2 separate regions of the Homo sapiens genome follow, and region 1 is linked to region 2. The links are contacts of gene promoters, found by promoter capture Hi-C in blood cells and fetal thymus (Javierre and others, 2016). All regions are on one chromosome and are shown on one strand. Each heading gives the region's core, a stretch centred on a gene start or on the middle of the fragment in contact. The rest is flanking DNA. Distances are from core to core; before and after follow the strand shown.

What was found. The method cuts DNA at HindIII sites, captures the fragments that hold promoters and counts their contacts. A CHiCAGO score of 5 or more calls a contact.
Region 1: a contact is called between a fragment that was not itself captured here and the fragment with the promoter of ADAMTS16 in region 2, in 1 of 17 cell types (megakaryocytes). The highest score is 5.6, in megakaryocytes.

The regions. Positions count from the first base shown.
Region 1 is chr5:5,374,389-5,377,510 of GRCh38, forward strand. All of the region lies in intron 2 of LOC101929200 (a long non-coding RNA gene), which reads right to left. It also overlaps the pseudogene ALG3P1. Among named protein-coding and RNA genes, the nearest start is that of ICE1, 47 kb to the right of the region's middle. The HindIII fragment of the contact is 5,761 bases long and covers 1-3,122 here.
Region 2 is chr5:5,138,921-5,142,103 of GRCh38, forward strand. It overlaps ADAMTS16 (ADAM metallopeptidase with thrombospondin type 1 motif 16), which reads left to right and starts at 1,410. Exons shown (of 23, transcript NM_139056.4): 1 at 1,410-1,619; 2 at 1,744-1,846. The coding sequence starts at 1,548. ADAMTS16-DT (ADAMTS16 divergent transcript) reads right to left here and starts at 1,134. Exons shown (of 4, transcript NR_109915.1): 1 at 1,036-1,134. RefSeq lists an enhancer at 616-1,182. The HindIII fragment of the contact is 3,896 bases long and covers 1-3,183 here.

The sequences.
Region 1 (3,122 bases), core at 511-3,010, 240 kb after region 2:
AGGGAGACCATGTGGGCAGGTGGTGAGTATTCCTGTGCTCAGGAAAAAGGAAAAAGGAAATGGAGAAGATACGGGCACCAAACAAATTAAGAAGAAGGCAATGCCCATGGGAGAAGCAAAGACCAGCAGAAAAGGGGACGGACCACTCTCGTCCAAAGGAAGTGAGTCATGCTCCATTTGCAGAAAAGTGGCAATAAAAAAAGTTGGTAAAATCAGTACGTTTTAAAATATTTGGTTATTTTCAAAAAAAGGATTAGGGAGATGTTGAGTCCTCATTTTGAGCAGACTTTCCCTGGTGCTGAGTGTGGTCAAGCTCACATCTTCCCCCACATGGTTCCTTGAGACTTAATGAGGAGGCATTCTTGTACATATTTCTTCCATTCACCTCGTTAATTTCCAGCACATTATTCCAATTGTAGTTAAATCATTCATCGTGTAATTAGCTGATGGTCTAATTTTACTCTCTCTCTTCCTTTTCTCCTTCCCTCCTGCCATCCTATCTCTTTTGGATAGATTGACAGGTGAACAACAACTTAAAGCGAAGAAATTTCAACAAGTCTTTGGTTTATTTTAACCAAACTTTTTCTACATATTTTTAGATAGTTAAAAAATCAATAAGGAATTATTGAAAGCATGTTTTTCCAGGCCTTTTGAGCTTAAAAATTAAAGACAATATCCCAAGGAAAGGATGCAACTAAATTTTTTAGACAATAAACTTCAAATACTCATATTTCATGTATTTATTTATATCAAAATGAAACTGAATATTTAAACTAGAATGATAGAGCACGTAAATTCAATTACTTAGCTGTCACTCATTCTAAGAATACAAACATATAAGTGACTCAATCAAAAGTGGATATTTTAAAAATATATAGAACAAATTATAATTTCTGAAAGGCTCAAATTAACCAGTTTAGAATGTTCAAAATTTGGTCCAAAAGCTGGAAACCAACTCCTGTAAAATTAGCATACTTTATACAAATGGATTAATCCAGAAGACAATACAAGATCCCTGTGTACTCCTGTGAATTCAGCTTCCTTCTGTGTCTTTGTGTCAATATTGTAGCCATAGCATTGTTGATCGAGATACATAAAAGTCCTAGTGATTTTGACTGGATGTGTGGCTGTCTGTTGCCTTTCCATGCACATCCTGTGTGAATCCCTCTATATATAGAGAGAGGAAGTCTATGTGTGTGTGTGTGTGTGTGTGTGTGTGTGTGTGTGTGTCTGTGTGTGTGTATTGGACTTGGCAAGGTTTATTTGGAAGGGCACAGAGTCTATCTCACTCCCCCAGGTCCTGAGAGTGCACTGGAGGGAAAGGGGTGGATTTCAGGGAACTTTCTTGCTGTGTTGGATGCTCTTGGGGAATGGCTGCAGGCCCAGCCAGAGCTGCAGCAAGAGGACAGCATGGCACACATGCTGGGCAGCAGAGCAGTAGGATGTGGAGGGGTATGTGTTCCAGGAGAGCTCCATGAGCCCCACCACCAGCAACCTGAGCAGGTGTGTGAGCCAGTGTGCAGTCCTGGCCCACAGGAGGTAGGGCAGTGTGTGGAAATACCAGACACAGAACTGGTAGTGGAGGGAGGTGGCTAAAGCAGATGCCAATGAAGTTAGAGGTGAAGAGGGTAGAAACGATCTGGTTGGCTATGAAGGGCTTGGGTGGAACCTTCCTTTTGGAGGGATCCTTCATCAGTGACAAGATACATTCCCCCATCCTGGGCCACCAGTAGAGGGTAAACAGCAAGAGCAAGGTGAGGTGGGTGGCCATCAGGGCCAGGTGGAAGGCACGGTGCAGGCAGAGAGCCCCTGGGAGGAAGCACCAGTTCATTGTCCAGCAGAACAGAAACTGGCGGCCAAGGTCAAAGGAGCGAGACAGGTAGCCAGTGGGCTTCTCCAGCAGGAAGGGCAGCCCCAGCACCACCTGAAGGCCAACACAGATGCCCAGCTTGGGGAAGGCCCCACGGCAGCCAAACTGTGTGAGGAGAAGAAACAGTAACCCAGGGGCGAACAGCAGCACTTTCATCTTCACAGAGGCTGCCAGGCTGGAACACCAGCAGCCCCAGCCCCAGCGCTGGACCAGCAGGAGGCTGATACCGAGGGCACTGGGTCATAGGAGAGCCACAGCACAAAGGTGCAGTGGACACAGTAAGAGGCGTGGCACATGAAAAATAAGATAAAGGGAGGTACCTTGTAGGTCTGGAGGTAGATCAAGAAGACAAGCAGCAAGGTGGCCAGGCAGAGCACAGCAAAGATGTTCTGGACATGTGAATGTCAGTGCCTCGGCCAGGGGCATAGAACAGCCCCATAAAGATGGACACAAAACCAGCTGGGTACACAAGTGGCCCACTGTCACAGGCCACTGTCATAGACAGCTGGGTCTAGTCATAGGTACCGCTGATGACGCCTTCCACCTGGGCCATGTAGGCCTTCTGGTCGATCTCTGTGTCTTTCACTAATTTTCAGATTTTGTAATAGGAGTCGTTCAGGTACCTGTAGAGGAACTGGCACAGGATGTGCAGGGAAAGGAGGAAGACAGCCACACATCCAGGTGAGCCAGGTGTGAGAAAACATGGATAGGGCCAGGCGTGATAATCCCAGTGCTTTGGGAGGCCAAGGCAAGTGGATCACCTGAGGTCAGGAGTTCGAGACCAACCTGAGTAACATGGCGAAACTCCATCTCTACTAAAAATACAGAAATTAGCCAGGTGTGGTGGCGGGTGTCTGTAATCCCAGCTACTTGGGAGGTTGAGGAAGGAGAATTGCTTGAACCTGAGAGGTGGAAGTTGTAGTGAGCTGAGGTCATGTCACTGCACTCAGTGAGCTGAGATTGCACCACTACACTCCAGCCTGGGTGAGAGAGCAAGACTCCATCTCAAAAAAAAAAAAAGAAAAGAAAGAAAGAAAGAGAACATGAGCAGATGCATTACAGATTTGACTCAAAAGCAACTGTTTCAGAGGTTCAAATTGATCTATGCACCCTTCTAAGGGACTCAAATGGTTAAGAATGTCACCAGACGAATCTCAGAGTAAAAACCAAAGCCCAAAAAGACTGCTCCAAAAAGAGACTCATCATCACGAACTTCTAGGTCAATTACACATTTTAAGGTCACCAGAGCAGG
Region 2 (3,183 bases), core at 160-2,659:
CCTCCCAAAGTGCTGGGATTACAGGCGTGAGCCACCGCGCCCGGCCTACTGCTCACTCTTTGGGTCCACTCTGCTTTCATGAGCTGTAACACTCACCGTGAAGATCTGCAGCTTCACTCCTGAGCCCAGCGAGACCACGAGCCCACCGGGAAGAACGAACAACTCCAGAGGCTCTGCCTTAAGAGCTGTAACACTCACCGCCTAGGTCTGCAGCTTCAATCCTGAGCCAGCGAGACCACGAACCCACCAGAAGGAAGAAACTCCGAACACATCTGAACATCAGAAGTAACAAACTCCAGACGCACCACCTTAAGAGCTGTACCCACTCACCGCGAGGGTATGCGGCTTCATTCTTGAAGTCAGTGAGACCAAGAACCCACCAATTCCAGACACACTATGGGCTCACAGCGTGTACTCGCGCACACGCAGTCAGGTGTGGATGTACACCCGCGCACACCCAGGCACATGTACACCCGCGCGCTCACACACCCCATCCAGCTACAGCAGAATTCTGGCCAGGCTGTTGACCGCACACCTGCTGCCTCCTTGGCCACCCTGTCCACACAGTAGCCCGATCGACCCCCGTGGCGGCCGAGACCCAGGCCCATCCGCAGCCCTGAGACCTCCCTAGGGATTGCACCCAGCAGCCAGTCACCGGCCTCCGCGGCCTGGCCAGTTGAGGGTGGCCGTGACCGCGGGGCCAGGAGCGCCGCCACATCTCGGGGCAAATGGCGCGGGGGAAGAGTTTCCTCCTCAGCCTCCCCGTCTCCGATCGCTCCGCAAACTCCAGAGCGAGGCACGCGCCTTTAAAGGCAGGTCCGCGGCTCTCCCACGTCCTGGCGCCCGGTTTTCCGCACCCAGTGTCCCCACAGCTGTGCCCGGGCACAGAGGCGCGGCCAGACCGCACTCCGCGGGCTGCAGGTGTCCCGGCCTCTGGCGGCGCCGGTGCGGCCCGGAGGTGGGAGCCCGCGGAGCCACTGCAGTAGCTGGAGTCCCGCCGAGTCCCCAGCCCCAAGGCAGGGCAGGAGCGCGCACCGGCCGGAGGTCCATGCTGAGCATCGCCCGCGCCGGTGCCCGGCAGCCTCTCCAACTGTGTGGTCCCCGCGCGGGCAGAGAGGCACGGACTGCAGGCCGTGGGCAGCTCCATCTTCCCGCGTCCTCCTCCTCTGGCGCTGCCCGCTGTCTCCCGCCTTCCCTCTGCTCCCCGCTCGCCTCCGCCTCAGCGCCCCGCTGACCTCGCCTCCTCCCCTCTGCTCTTTGTCCCTGCACTCTCCCCTCCTCGGTCCTCTGACCCCCCCGCCCTCACCTCCTCCCCTCCTCTCTCCCCTGCCCGCCCCGCGCTCTCCCACCGCTCCCGCCGCCCCCGCCGCCGCGGCTGCCACTCCGCCCCCCGCGCCGCACGGAGCTTCAGTAATAACCCCGGCGCGGCGGCGGAGTCGCTGTGGGGAATCCTCCCGCGCTCTGCCTGGGTCGGGTCCTCCCTGCCCGCTCGCACGCTGCCGGCCGGGGACCCTCCGGTGGCCCCTAGCCCCTCGGAGCGCTCCTGGATGAAGCCCCGCGCGCGCGGATGGCGGGGCTTGGCGGCGCTGTGGATGCTGTTGGCGCAGGTGGCCGAGCAGGTGAGTCCCGGGCGCTCCCACCAGCGCGGAAACCGCGGGTCCGGACAGCTGGAGGCGAGTCCCCCGCGGCTCCTCTCCCGCGGACCCCGCCGTCTCACCGCGATGTCGCCGCTGTTTTCCGCAGGCACCTGCGTGCGCCATGGGACCCGCAGCGGCAGCGCCTGGGAGCCCGAGCGTCCCGCGTCCTCCTCCACCCGCGGAGCGGCCGGGCTGGATGGAAAAGGGCGGTAAGTCCGTGAGGTGGGGGCTTCTAATCCTTGCCATTTAGCAGCTCGTAATCTCCGTGCCGCTGGTTTATTAGGTGCTGTGAATGTTCACGACTCTGTGGAACCCTACTTTTAAGATGCTGTTGTGAACTTTTTTTTTTTTTAACTGTATGAGCGAGCCCCGATGAGTGGATTTCCACCAATATTTACATTTTATTCCCTGGCAAAACGGTTTGCCAGAGTTATTGATATAACATTAGGAAAAAGGTGAGGAAGTTCATTTTATTTTATTCTAAAGAGCTTAGGAAGAATCTAAAGCTATTAATGTATGCATCAAAGCCGTCATAAAGAGCAAATTACTTTCTTTTCCGTCCCCTTCTACATCCTCGGATCCTCCTTCCCGTCCCCAACCTTTCCTCCTTCTCCTCCTTTATAGATTAAAATATTCCTCTATCGTTGCTTATTCTCAGTGAAGGAGATAAAAGAAGCGCTTAGCATCTCAATACCAAAGTTAATGCTCCAACAATCAGGGCGTACTTCAAACATAATAGTGCCTGAAATGGCTAATCAGCTGATTGTGACACCATCAGCAACGTTCATATCCTGGGCCACAATTTGACATGAGGGCAAGTCTTATTCTTTTTCAATGCATGCTTTTACTTCTGCCACTTACAAGTGACATTTGGAAATTTGCTGTCTTATGGAAAGGGATCTCTGTGTCTTCATACTGCATCAGGTAAATGAGAACGCAGGTGTGTCGCACTGGTTGCTAGGTGGTTTTTTAACCTGAACCCATCCAATGACAGTTAATAAATATTATTTTGCATTGTTACCAACAATAAATTGCCGTATCAAATGTTAATATTAATTGACTTTTATAGGAAGAACTAGGTTTCATTCTCTCAATGTATTTCCAGAAGATCTAGAAAATTAAAGTTAACAATTCAGAATTTCTCAGTATAGTTATTTCAATTTGATAAAATAACATAAAGGCAAGCACTTAATATATGCATTAACTTTTGAAATTATTCCCTGCCAAATGAGTACACAAATAGTATATAAGGTGACCGGTGTCAGATTGACGCTCACCATAGTACCTTTTTGAGAACCACCAGGGGGCGCTAGGTGCAAATGATATAAAATGTTAAAAAAAATTGTCACAGTGAATTTACAAGAGAAAGTTAATTATCTGTCCATTTACAGACTATCCTCTTGTGGTTGTCCTTGTCCTTTTTAGGGTTTTGCTTACAATACTAAAAGTTAATTCTTACAATTTTAAAGGTTAATTCTAATTCACCTTTTTAAGTAAGATTTTTGTAAAAAAAAAAAAAAAAATTCTAGTTCCCTAAAACCATGAA